Linked DNA regions of Homo sapiens: regions 1 and 3 are each linked to region 2. Evidence: promoter capture Hi-C in human tissues and cell types (Jung and others, 2019). All regions are on one chromosome and are shown on one strand. Each heading gives the region's core, a stretch centred on a gene start or on the middle of the fragment in contact. The rest is flanking DNA. Distances are from core to core; before and after follow the strand shown. Region 1 has its middle 4.6 kb from the start of LINC01654. Region 2 holds the start of IGSF21 (immunoglobin superfamily member 21). Region 3 holds the start of LOC105376812 (a long non-coding RNA gene).

Region 1 (4,415 bases), core at 828-3,327, 47 kb after region 2:
ACGAACTTCATGGTTCAAGAAGGAGGAATGGAGAGCTTTAGTTAATTACCACCCCAAAGGAGAAGATAGGGAGGCATTCCTAGAGACTGCTCTGGAGTCAGACAGATCTGATTCAAATCCTAACATCAGGCAAGTTGTGTAAGCTCCCCAAGTCTGTTTTCACATCTATGAAATGAGGCATGATAATAACAGCACCAGCCTCAAAGGACAGCTGTGAGTTAGGAAGATTGTGTGGTGGAGTGCTCAGTGCTGTGCCTGGTGTGCAGAATGTGCTCAATACCAGTGACTTATTGTTGCTAGGCTGGGGTTGAACCCCCAACCCAGGCCAACTCACAGGCTTCCCATCAGCCTACAGGCGGATGATTTTGGTTCAGGCCTTGATCCCAGATCCAGTCAGCCATGACCAAGAGTGAGATCACTTCCTGAGCTATAAAGAATGAATAGAGTTGGGCCAGGCGCGGTGGTTCACGCCTGTAATCCCAGCACTTTGGGAGGCCGAGGCGGGTGGATCACGAGGTCAGGAGATCGAGACCTTCCTGGCTAACACAGCGAAACCCCGTCTCTACTAAAAATACAAAAAATTAGCCGGACGCTGTGGCGGGCGCCTGTAGTCCCAGCTACTCGGGAGGCTGAGGCAGGAGAATGGCGTGAACCCGGGAGGCGGAGCTTGCAGTGAGCCGAGATGGCGCCACTGCACTCCGGCCTGGGCAACAGAGCGAGACTGCGTCTCAAAAAAAAAAAAAAAAAAAAGTAAAAAAAAAAGGATAGAGTTGGATAGAACAGGAATCCAAGGTGCTAGGAAGTGTGCTAGAGCAAAATCAGAGCCAGGAATGGGTAAAGCACTCGTGGGGGCCACTGAGAGAGCAATGAGAGATCTGATCATGCTGGGAAAGTAGAGTGGGCTTGGCGCTGTCCATGGTCCTGAGAAACAGCAGTGAACAAGAGTGACAGAGACCCCCACTCACAACATTGATCATCTAGATGAGGTGGGGACAGTCTATGTGAAGAAGACAATGTGCAAATCAACAAATAATGGAATCCCCAAGGTGAACTGGGTGAAGGGAGTTTTGGAACAAACTGAAGTAGGGTAAGTGGCCAGAGAGGGACAGGACCCTGTCTATCTCTGTGGTTTATCTCATGCCTCTGTTGGGTCAGGTACTGTCATTACTGGCCCTACTTTACAAATGAAGAAACTGAGGCTCAGAAAGGCTAAATAACTTCTCACTGACTCTTGAAGCAGAATTCAAAGACAGGTGGTTGTACCCCAGAGTTCAGACCATTAATGCTCACAATCCTACCTTGTCTTAGGTTGGGATTTTCCAAAAGGACACCCTAAGACAAGGATTTGAGTGCATAGAGTTTACTTTGAAGTGGCTTCCAGACACACCTGTAGGAGAATGAGGGAGTGAAACATGGAAGAGAAGAGAAGGAAGCCAACTAAGAGTGTTATGGAGCAGGTTTCCGCAGGGGGCAACCAGAGTTCCAGCCTGCTGGGAAGCAGCAGGTGAGAGCACAGAACAGGCCTGTGAGTTATTCGATGAATGAACGACTGGGGTGTGTATGTACCATTTTCCTACTTTGGTGGTTGGGGGTTGTTTTGTGTGGAAGCTGCTCCCACCTCCAGCCTGCCCCTTTGGCATGTGAGTTGGGATCTGACCACCAAAGAAAGCCCTCCAGTATGCTGGCTTGTAGAAGCCATAGAGTCACCATACACAGGAACGATGAGCTCCAGGAAGAGACTTAAAAGGGCACCAGCAACATCAACCATCCCAACTGAATTATATCATGTCCAGGCACAGTGAGAGTAACACTTCCAGAGAAAGGAAGATCAACAAGGATCAGAATGTCAGAATACCAAGGACCTCAGGTGCCAACACAAGGAATTTTATTTTATTTTATTTATTTATTTTATGGTGTCTCACTCTGTTGCCTAGTTGGAGTGCAGTGGTGTGATCTCGGCTCACTGCAACCTCCACCTTCCAGATTCAAGTGATTCTCCTGCCTCAGCCTCCTGAGTAGCTGGGACTACAGGCATGCCCCACCACACCCGGCTACTTTTTGTATTTTTAGCTGAGAAGGGTTTTCATCATATTGGCCAGGCTGGTCTCAAACTGCTGACTTTATGATCCACCTGCCTCGGCCTCCCAAAGTGCTGGGATTACAGGCATAAGCCACTCCGCCCGGCCGGGAATTTCCATTTCATCTTACGCATCACTTGGCACAGACACAGAGACATAAAGAGGAGAGAGTGCCACTAACAAATAAATGCCTACAGTGAACAAAAAGCTTTAAATTCATTAAATCAATCAAAGCTTGCATGTTCTCTGTAAGAAAAAAAGGCCTCTTTTTAGCTGAACAAACTGAGGCTCAGCTTTGGACTTTTCCCAGCATCCATAGCTCACCATCACAGGGCCTGGTTTAGAACATTTGACTAGATGAGCTCCTGCACTTTCCACCACACCAGACCTTAATTTGAAGGAAACTGAGTCCGGGGGGCCTGGGAACAGAGCCAGTGCCTCGCTGACTTCGTTCCCACATTCTCTTTCCAGTGTGAATGTCAGCTACCTAAATAACTTCGGTTATTTGGCTAAATTAATCCTCCGAGGAACTGCATAAATAGAACCGGGAAGGCATACACAGACACACAGAGACGTATATATATTTAACACGTACGAGTGATGCGTCGCCGCGTGCCGATAAACAGCCTGATGACAAGCAAAGGAAAGACATAAATACAAAAAATTATAACCCAGGGCTGGGTGCTGGGGTGCAATCCAAAGGCTCGCAGTGCCCAGTGCCAACAACGCGGGAGTGTGAGTTCCCATGGGGATTGTTGTAAAGACTGAATGAGACAATGTGTAGGTTGGTTAGCCCAAGGCTAGCTATAGTGGGGTTGGTAATCATAACTACTGTGAATTCCCTCCAGGGATGGGCTGCAAAGGCGGTCAGGGAGCTCTGGCTCAAAGGATATGTGGAGCCCATGCGGAGAGAAAAGGCCAAGCTGCCCCAGGCAGGTATCCCTGCAGTTGCGCGTACAAACACGCCACCAAACCAGTGATCCCGGCCCCCACCATTCCTTGTGCCGTGGAACTATGAGCAGGCCATGCCACCACCCAAAGCCCCAATTTCCTCATCTGTTAATTGGTAATAATAATATTAATATTAGGTTGGTGCAAAAGTAATGGCACTTTTGGCCATGACTTTTATGGCAAAACTGTGATTTCTTTTGCACCAACCTAATACTTTTGTAATGATTAAATGAAATAGAACGCACACAGCACTTGTCAAATAGATTGATGGAGTTGGTGAATGAATGGCAAAAGTGTAGCCCTATTGGGCTTGCTAGGAGGCAGGTTACAGCAACGAGGAACCCCAAGAGGCTTGACAGTTTACTTTCCACCTTTCCTTTTACTTCGTCCATTGAGAGTAAATGCATCAATGATCATGGTCCCCTCCCTCAAGCAGAAATTCACAGCAGCTATGATTATCAACTCCACTATAGCTAGCCTTGGGCTAACCAACCTATACACCTTGTCTCATTCGGTCCTTACAACAATCCCCTGAGGATGTGGCAATTTTTACCCCCACTTTCAAGATGAACCTTTCTCAGGACCTAACAGGTGATGTGACTTGCCCAGGGCCACACCTTGTGCTATAGGTTGGATCCCATCCCCTCAAAATTCACGTGTTCAAGTCCTAACCCCCCAGTGCCTCAGAAATGTGAGCTTATTTGGAAATAGGGTCTTTACAGAGATAATCAAGTTAAAAGGAGGTCATCAAAGTAAAGCCTAATCCAACATGACCGGTGCCCTCGTAAAATGGGGAAATGTAAATATGGAGAAGACACACACTCAGACACACACTACGTAAAGCGAAGGCAGGCAGGATGGTGCCTTTATGAGTCAAGCCATGCCAAAGAGTGCCAGCAAAACACCCAGTGAGAGAGCTAGAACAGATTCTTCCTGTAGCACTCAGAAAGATGCAACCCTGCAGACACCTTGATCTCAGACTTCAAGCCTCCAGCACTGAGTCAATACATTTCTGACTGCTTAAGCTTCCCATTTGTGGGACCCTGTTAGAGCAGCCCTGGCCTGTAATACAGCTGCTAAGTGCAGAGCCAGGATTACACAGAGCTGGATGCTCTCATTTCAGTTCGGTGTGCTGAGATGTCCTTTCACTCAGACCCAACCTTCCACTCAGGCCCAGCCAAGGGGAGGTGGAGTGAGGATGTGCTCAGCAAATGCTTGGAGGAGGCAGGGCGTGGAAGGATGGGGGAACAAAATACCACTGCGACCCCTGCCAGCCTTTCTAATTAGAGAGCAAAGCAGATCCTGGCAGGAGCCAGGGTCAGGGGTGCAGCAGGACAGAGCTTCCACTCATGCAGGAGGACATGAGCTGGCTGAGAAAAGCCCCTC
Region 2 (4,245 bases), core at 1,524-4,023:
GGGGCAGAACCGGCGAGGGCGTTCTGGCCGTGCCCCTCCCCGAGCAGTGACCGCCAGTACGTTCGTGAAGGCCGGCGCGGGTTGCTCCTCTCTGCGCCCTCGGAGGCAGGTGGCCCTGCAAAGCCGCTGCCAGGTGCACCTCTCTCGGCCACCTCCAGGAAGGGCGCCCTCCTCCGGCACAGCCCGCCTCTTGCGTCTCTCACGGACTCTTCTCGCACCCCGCCCCCCATTCTGGGCACAGACTTGGAAGGAGGAAGGAGGGACCCCACCCTCGTGTGCTCTCCTCTGCGGAGAAGAGAGGGCTCCCGGCTGCCTCGGATCTCCCTCTGCGCCCCAGACGCGGAAAGTTTCCCATTCGCGATCCGCGTCTGCGCTCTTCCTTCATCCTGAGCAGCGGAGCTCCGAGGCCGCGCTGGCTGCACCGGCCCAGATGCGCTCACCCTCAGGCACGCCAACCCCCGCCTCCCGCAGCCCGCAGAGGCGGGCAAAGGGATTTGAGGCGTCAGGATGCCGGGTCAGCTCTCTGCAGCCGGGCAGCCAGAAGAACCCTGCTCCCGGGTTCCAGGGAGAGCTCGCAGGGTGGGGTCCTGACGGAGCCAGGGTTTCCCAACAAGCCCTTCTCATCAGTCCTCTCCTTCACCCTGCCGCGTCTCTCTGTTCTGCGCATTCCCAGGGAAAGGGGTGCTTACCTTAGGTCCCCAGCCTCCAACCCCCGCCCCCTGCAATGTCCAGGTGAGGGCTCCAGTGCCTTTCAACAAACCCCAGTGCCCTCTCGGCGGCGCTGGAACGAGGACCTCCCCCATGTAACCTTTCCCTCTAGAGCCCTCCTCCCAAAGTTGAGGGGGGACATTTTGATCCACTTAGGAAAGTCTCTTGTTCCAAGGGTAGGGGAACAAAGTACAGGGTTTGCATTCCTTCTGGGTTACACCAACCCCTCCCCCCTCGCTGTCAGGACCACCTTCCGGGCTCAAATTCTGCAGCTTCTCCCATCAGCAGACCCAGCACTCCCCAAGGACTTCGGGGTAGAAGGAGTTGGGGTTATTTTTAAGGGGGCACCCCTTCCTGGCAGGCACTCTCAGAGCCTAGGTAGGCACCTCCTGCTGGGACAAGGCTATGGCATAGGACAGAGGTGATGCCCACCTCTATCATCCAGTGGGGCTCGGGGTCGAGACCTTATTGATCATAAAGACGACTTTTTGGCACCTCGCGTCCCGCTCCCCTCCGAGGCGGAGCCAGGCTCTGACTCCAGCCAGGCTGAGGTTGGCACCAGGCTCCGAGGAGGATCCCGGACGCGGAGCCTGTAGTCTCGGTGCCTGCGGCTCTTCGCTGGTCCCGCCTCCCTCCCTCCTGGCTTTTAGCCTCACGTTGGCTCTCTGCTCACTGCGCGAAAGGGTTCAGCTCCATTTAAGACCCACTACGCGGCGGCACTGGGTGGGAGGCCGGCCGCGGACCCTGGGGCTGCGGAGCCACCTCTCACTGGCTCCGGAGAACCCGCTCGGCTTCAACCTCCTTCTAGCTGTCTTAGCCTAACCCGGGAGCAAGTCCACACGGCGGGACACACACACACACACACACACACACACACTGAGCTGCTCACAACTCCCCAGCCCCGGAAGCGTCCATACCTCCCTGCACACGATAACCACACGCTCCATGGCACGCATACACACACTCCCAGCCCCATGAAGCCCACGACTCCCAGGCACCTGCACCCCCACCCATCCCACATAAGCAGACTCTTGTCCAGTGTCACAGTCCCATCTCCTGTGCACACAGAAATAGTAATCCGCTGTCGTACACCCCTAGAGACCTGCACACTCGGGACACACGTGAAACGCCAAACCTCACATACCCACCCCCTAACACCTCACACCCACAGTGACACAAGCTCACACACTTCACACCCTCACAGGGAAGGTGGCACATGTTCACACCCTCCCCCCAACATTCGCTCACACTCTCACACACACACCTTCTCCATGTAACTGACACAGACACTCTAACACCCATCCAGACCCTCGCTCACTCACACGCAGACCCCACACCATCACACACACACGCACACACACACTTGCATCTCTAAATACACTCCCGCACCTTCTGCCCACACAGCTCCTTCCCGGACACCCTCACCCAGACACACAACAAAGACACACAATTTACACACACACACACACCCTGGCACAAATCCATGAGCGCTCTCCAAGAGGCGTCCTCCCTCCCTCATCGAGCCAACCAGCTCCACAGACCCCGGGCAGGACCGGTGCTCGTAGCCCGAGCCTCTCGGAGCGACCCCGGCCAGCGCCCTCCCCCGGCACCCCGTCCCCGCGCACGTTCACCGCTCGGCTCCCGCCAGGCGCCCGCGCACTCACCGCGCGCCAGGTCCAGGATCGCGGCGAGCAGCAGGCAGACGCAGCGGCGGAGGCTCGGGGCGGTTCGCATGGTGCCCGGGAGCTGGCGGCGGTGGCGGGGCGGCGGGGGTGGAGGCGGTGGCGGCGGGTCCCCTCGCCATGGGCTCAGACGCGCTCCTGCCTCCGGCCACTGGCCGAGGCGGTGGCGGGCAGCGCGGAGAGCCGCGGGGGCGCCCCCATGCCGCCGCGGCCAGGCAGCCCGGGCGCCCGGCTCGACTCGGCTCCGGCTCTGCGAGGCGCAGCGACCCTCGCGCTCTGGGCGTCCTCGGGGCTCGCCGCGGTTCTCGGCTCCCTAGCTGCGCGCGGTGCCCACCGCGGCCCAGAGTCCGATCGGCTGCAGCGCCGGAGTTTGGAGCCGAATCGCGCTCTCTGCCTCGCGCTCGCCTCTCCCGGCGGCGCGAGCACCCCCCTCCTCTCGCCCTCCCTCCGTCCCTCCCCCTCTCCCCGCCCCCCCGCCCTCCTTGCCCTCCCCTCGCCGCGCTCTCCGCGTATTATACAGACTTTTCTTTAATCCTTTCTGGGCTGTTCGGCTCTCGTCCGCTAAGCCGATTTATTGCAGGGAGAAGGAGAGCTCACCCCCTCCTAACCTCCCCTCTCCCCTCACTCAGGTCCCCCCTCACTCAAAACTGGCTTGCTGCCTCCAGCTTCTTAACCCTTACCCAGGTGACCCAACACCCCGCCCTGGAAGCTATGCTCCATCGGATCCGCCTTTACCTAGCCCCTCCTATCCCCGGGATTACCATCGCCCTCCCCGCTACTCAGCCTGATGAAAGGAGGCAGCCTCCCTCCCGAGAGGGAAAGATGCCATCCTGGGAGCAGGGCAGGCAGGGTGTGGCTCTGGAGTTCTGACCTTGCCAACGATGAATGCCCTCATTGGGCAAGATTAAGGGGTTTCCATGTTCTGAAACTTCCCCAATTACGGCTGCTCCTTCCCCCAGGGACCCACGGAAATGGGGTGTGTTCTGTCTTTTTCCCATGTGCTAGGATCCAGCCAGGAAGGGTGAGGAACTGATTGTTTCCTCCTGGCAGAGACCAAGTTTCCACCTTTTTGCCAGACCTGACAGCTTTTCTTCCCAGGTCCGAGAAGAACAGGTTTGGGACTTGTATGTTACCATTACTCTCCCACCAACACACACGCGAGCACACACACACACACACACACACACACACACACACCATTGAGCCTCAGCCCTGGCGGTGGACTTTGAGGCCTCCTGCGAGGATGAAGGGGAGGGGTACTCTAGCCCTTGGAGTGGACTGGGGATGTGGTTAGATGAGGAAGTTCAGGAGATAGAATTTCACCATTGGTAGGGACCCAGAAGATTGGCAAAGCCCAGAAAAACCAGCACGACCAGGGGCAAAACCTGCTCAGAACTCAGGTGGGTCCCTTTACCCAGGCCTTCTATGGAGAATCTCCAGCTTCCCTAGCTCTGGCAGGTTGCTGAGTCAGGCTGTTGCATCGTTTACCTACATGGGCAATGGGTCTATAGCCAGTTCCATCTCCAGCAGCCCTCTGAGAGGAGTGTAGGGAGTGGGGTGGGCAATGGGTGGTTGCTGGGCTGCCTCTGGGTGAGCTTTGTGCAGAGATGTCCATGAAAGTGAACTGCTCCCTCCTCCTGCCCTCTGGAACCTCACCCCATCGCCTCCCAAGGCAGCTCTGCGGCTCAGCTTGCTCACCCACCCCAGAAGGAGCGATTTGCATTTATGAAGATCTGAAAGCATACGTTCACCTGACAGGCTTTAGAATGATCCTCTCAGTAAAATAATAATAATGATCATAATAAACCCTTATAAATAGGTGTTTGATTACAGTTTGTCCCTAAGTGGGATTTTT
Region 3 (3,935 bases), core at 682-3,181, 63 kb after region 2:
ATGCAATCACAGAGGACTGCAAGGCCCTGGGGCAGCAAGTGGAGGGTGTGGTTAACCTTGGTGTCTGCAGATGGCAACCAGGAAGGTGCCAGTTAAGCCTTAGCCCATGTGGCACAGACACACCTCACCTGGAATTTAGGGCATGGCTTGCAGATGTCTGCTTTTACATTCTGGAACCCAGGCCTGGCCAAATCTTGGGTTGAGCAGAAACTGCTGAACTGTAAAGGAGGGGTCGTCTGCTCCTGTTGGCATGACCTGCCATGCTTTTGCCTGTATATTAACTTTGCAAGTCAGCAAATGACCCACTGAGGGTCTTAGTGGAAGGAGCACTGGTTTTAGAGTCTGGCAGAATTTCCTTCCAATTCAGGCTCTGCTCTTTACTGAGAGTGAGACTTGGGAATCTCCACCTCCTCCTCTTCTAAATGAGGGGAACGATGCCTTCATCAAGAGGGGTGGGGCTGTGTGATGAAATGGCCCACGGTGGGAAGGCACTTAGTGAGTGCTCTCGGGCATGTGGCAGGCTCCCGGGCCGGCCAGTGCTAGCGGGTGGCTGGGCTCCTGGAGGCCTGGGGCTGGGCTGTGTGCTGTTCTGTACACAGGTCTGCACCATCCTTCCCTCTCCTCTGCCTGCCTCCACTTGGGTCAGTAGCTCGCTCCTGGGGGAGTCTCAGGGGACCTCATGCATTCACTCTTTGAGTCATTAATTCACATACGAATTGCCAGGACAGTTCTCTCTGCCAGTGACCAGCAGGGCATCTATTTCCAACCTCTCTAACCAATTATATAAAGCACTGAAATTTTCTTAAAGTACCCTCCCTCCCTGAAGTCTTCATCTCCTTCCTCCCCCCTACTTTGCAAGCTGAAATGGAATTATATATATTTTTTGCCATCATCTGCTGTAGACTATGGCTCCCAAAGAATCATGGGTAATTTCAGATGCAAATGTCCTATGCAAATCCAGCTGCTGGTTAAAATTAGGAGGAAGCCCAAGGCAGATGCAGTTGCAGGCTGTAACTGGAATCTCCACCGAGCCTTGATTTAAAATGCAAGTGACGCTGCAGGCTTTCAACACGGAGCTACAAGCTTAGTCCCAGGTCCCAAGGTTCTGTTGCTCCGTGCATGGGGTTTTGTAAAGCAAGTGTGGGTCACTTACCTGGCAGACTGGGAGCGGTTTTTCAGGCTTGTATTCCAACCCAGTGGTTCTCAACCAGGGGTGATTTTTGTCCCCCAGGGGACATTTGGCGATGTCTGAAGACATTTTGGGTGTCAGAACTTGGTAGGTGCAACTGGCATCTGGTAGGTGGACACCAGGGAAACTGCTAAACATCCTACAATGCACAGGCCAGCCCCAACTACAAAGACTCAGCGGGCCCAAAATGTAGACAGTGCAGAGGCCGAGAAACCTTCTTCAAACCTATGCCAACCCATGCCCTGGAAGTTCGCTGGGATCCACGAGAGGAAGAGAAGGTGGAGTCTTCGTTCGTTAATCAGTCATTACATTCACCTTGAAAAGAGAGTTGGATTAGTCCAAGTCCAACACAACGTTCAACTCACCATCCATTAACATCCTGATCTCACACAGCCTCACTCTTGTTTTGCTTTGTTCGATTTTTCTCCTTCTCCCTGATGCTATTGCCTGGCCCCTCCTGACTGCCCCCTCTGTAGCTCCACTCTAAAATCTCTAATATATGTCCTCAGATACGGATGGTGCCTATAAAATATATGGTGTTGTTTATTGTGCGAATGTGTTTTAATTTACATAAATTGTATTGGGCTATAGATCTCATTCTGTTGCTTAATTTTTTCACTTAACACCATGTTTTTAAGATCTACCTGAGTTGCTGTGCATTATCTCATTCGATGTTTCTGACTGCTGCAGAGTTTCTCTAGAGATGTCCGCTGTTCCAGGGGTGGACACTAGATTGCCTCCGATGCCCCACCATGTGGGTGACCCACTGGGACCACGTGAGTGTTTCCCCGGAGTCTCCCCAGGAGTGGGATGGTGGGGTCAGAAGGCGTGCAGTACTTCATTTCCCTGAATACTGACAGGTTTCTTCGAGGACACTGGTACTCAGCACATGGCATTATCCAAATTTCTCATTTTTTTTCCAACCTGATTGGTATGACATTGTTGTTTCCATTTGGGAAAGGAAGATGGAATTTTAAAAAGCATTTTCTAGGACCTAAGAATGAGAAGTCATCTTAAGAGTGAGCTAGTCCTGGGGACCTAAGGCTCCGCCTACTTACAGATGAAGCAGCTGAAGGCCAGAGAGCTCTAGGTGCACAAACTTAGGAAGCCATTCATTCTTCAAATGGTAAATAATTACCCGGAGTCTTCTCTGAGTCAGGGCCCCTGCATTCAGGACAGGGTGGTAAACAATAGAGACATGTTGCCATCCCTTGAGGAGCATATGCATGAGTGGGGAGAGAGCAAACCATTGCAGAAACAACTCATTAAATGCCACTGTGATTAGTGCTACAGAGATGCACAAGATGCTGCATTGGAGTGGGGAGGATGGGGTGCGGTGGGGGATGTCAGAGAGAGTTTCCCCAAGGAAGGGACATTTAGGCTGTGACGTAAGGGATGACAAGAATTCCCCGGGTGATGGGGGAGCGAGTTGTCAGGCTTCTCAGAGCCTTGGTCTCCTATGTATTGATGAGATAACATACATGGGCCATGTAGCTAATGTGAGATAAACATAGTGGCTGGGCACTGTGTTAGGAGCTGAGAGATGAAGCTGATGAGATCAGGAGCCCAGCCCTCGACAAGTGATGAGCTCACAAACAGGGGTTCCATTGCTGGAAGCCATGTACAAAGGTGAGGACACTAGGGAGCTGAGAAGCTGCAGGGATGGGTGGTACAGATGGGTGGGGTGGAATTGGGGAGAGGGGTGATGGGGATGGATGGGACAGTGCAGGTTAAGTGGAAGTGAAGTGGGGTCAGATGTCTCTTTCTGAGGGACCCAAGGCAGTCAGAGAATTCAGACTAGATGCGGGGACCAAGCTTTGAAAGCAACACAGTAAGCATTGAAAGTAGGGAAGGCTCCTCTGCGAGACCCCTTGGCACAAGTCTGGGGATGGGTAAGAGGTGCCAGGTTTGGTGACTGCAGAATTGAGAGTGAAGAGGACTTCTGCGTCGGAGCTTCCTGTGCTTATGTAGGTCCTCCTTCCCCTATTTCACTGGGGACTTCCCTGTGAAACAAGAGCTGGAGCTTTCTCCTCAGCCTGGGAGCTCTCAGTACCTAGGAGGTCATGGGCTCTGTCCTCCACCACCTCATCAGGCCATCAGGTCCTAATGTCTGGGTTCTCCCTGCAGCCCTGTGCTCATCAACCTGGGAGTTCCCTTAAGGTGGCACCTTCCTTCCCTGGGTTTACAAAGAGCTGGGCGTCTGCTGCTGTGCCAGGAGGGCATCACTGCCCCAGTGATTCTGCTGAGTATCTGGTGGGCGGTGTCCTTATCCAGGCAGCTTTGTAGCAGCTTTGAAGGGGCTGACAGAGGTTACTGTTCTGTACCCTCCTCTTTACCCTGCCTGCCACAATTTATAAACGTGCCTCTTTTCTAGAACTACACTGACCCCAGAACCTCAACAATTCCCCATCTTAATCTTTTTCCTGGGCACGAAGATGCCCTCTGAGGCCTTGGGGCACATGAAACATCCTTTTCCCCTCCCTGTTTTGAGAGGGAATCCCTGATGGGCCAGGCGCGGTGGCTCACGCCTGTAATCCCAGCACTTTGGGAGGCCGAGGCAGATGGATCACTAGGTCAGGAGATCAAGACCATCCTGGGTAACATGGTGAACGCAGTTTCTACTAAAAATATAAAAAAAAAATTAGCAGGGCTTGGTGGCGGGCGCCTGTAGTCCCAGCTACTCAGGAGGCTGAGGCAGGAGAATGGCGTGAACCCGGGAGGCAAAGGTTGCAGTGAGCCGAGATCA

Evidence for each region. Contacts are between HindIII fragments. The study calls those that stand out against the background at their distance.
Region 1: a fragment that was not itself captured here is called in contact with the fragment with the promoter of IGSF21 in region 2 in 4 of the 25 tissues and cell types used here (dorsolateral prefrontal cortex, liver, spleen and 1 more).
Region 3: a contact is called between a fragment that was not itself captured here and the fragment with the promoter of IGSF21 in region 2, in 3 of the 25 tissues and cell types used here (dorsolateral prefrontal cortex, liver and spleen).

The regions. Positions count from the first base shown.
Region 1 is chr1:18,058,891-18,063,305 of GRCh38, reverse strand. No RefSeq gene overlaps it. Among named protein-coding and RNA genes, the nearest start is that of LINC01654, 4.6 kb to the left of the region's middle. The HindIII fragment of the contact is 4,771 bases long and covers 1-4,415 here.
Region 2 is chr1:18,106,326-18,110,570 of GRCh38, reverse strand. IGSF21 (immunoglobin superfamily member 21) reads right to left here and starts at 2,773. Exons shown (of 10, transcript NM_032880.5): 1 at 2,373-2,773. The coding sequence starts at 2,442. The HindIII fragment of the contact is 17,740 bases long and covers 1-4,245 here.
Region 3 is chr1:18,042,454-18,046,388 of GRCh38, reverse strand. It overlaps LOC105376812 (a long non-coding RNA gene), which reads right to left and starts at 2,635. Exons shown (of 3, transcript XR_947008.3): 1 at 1,834-2,635; 2 at 1,154-1,504. The HindIII fragment of the contact is 3,717 bases long and covers 73-3,789 here.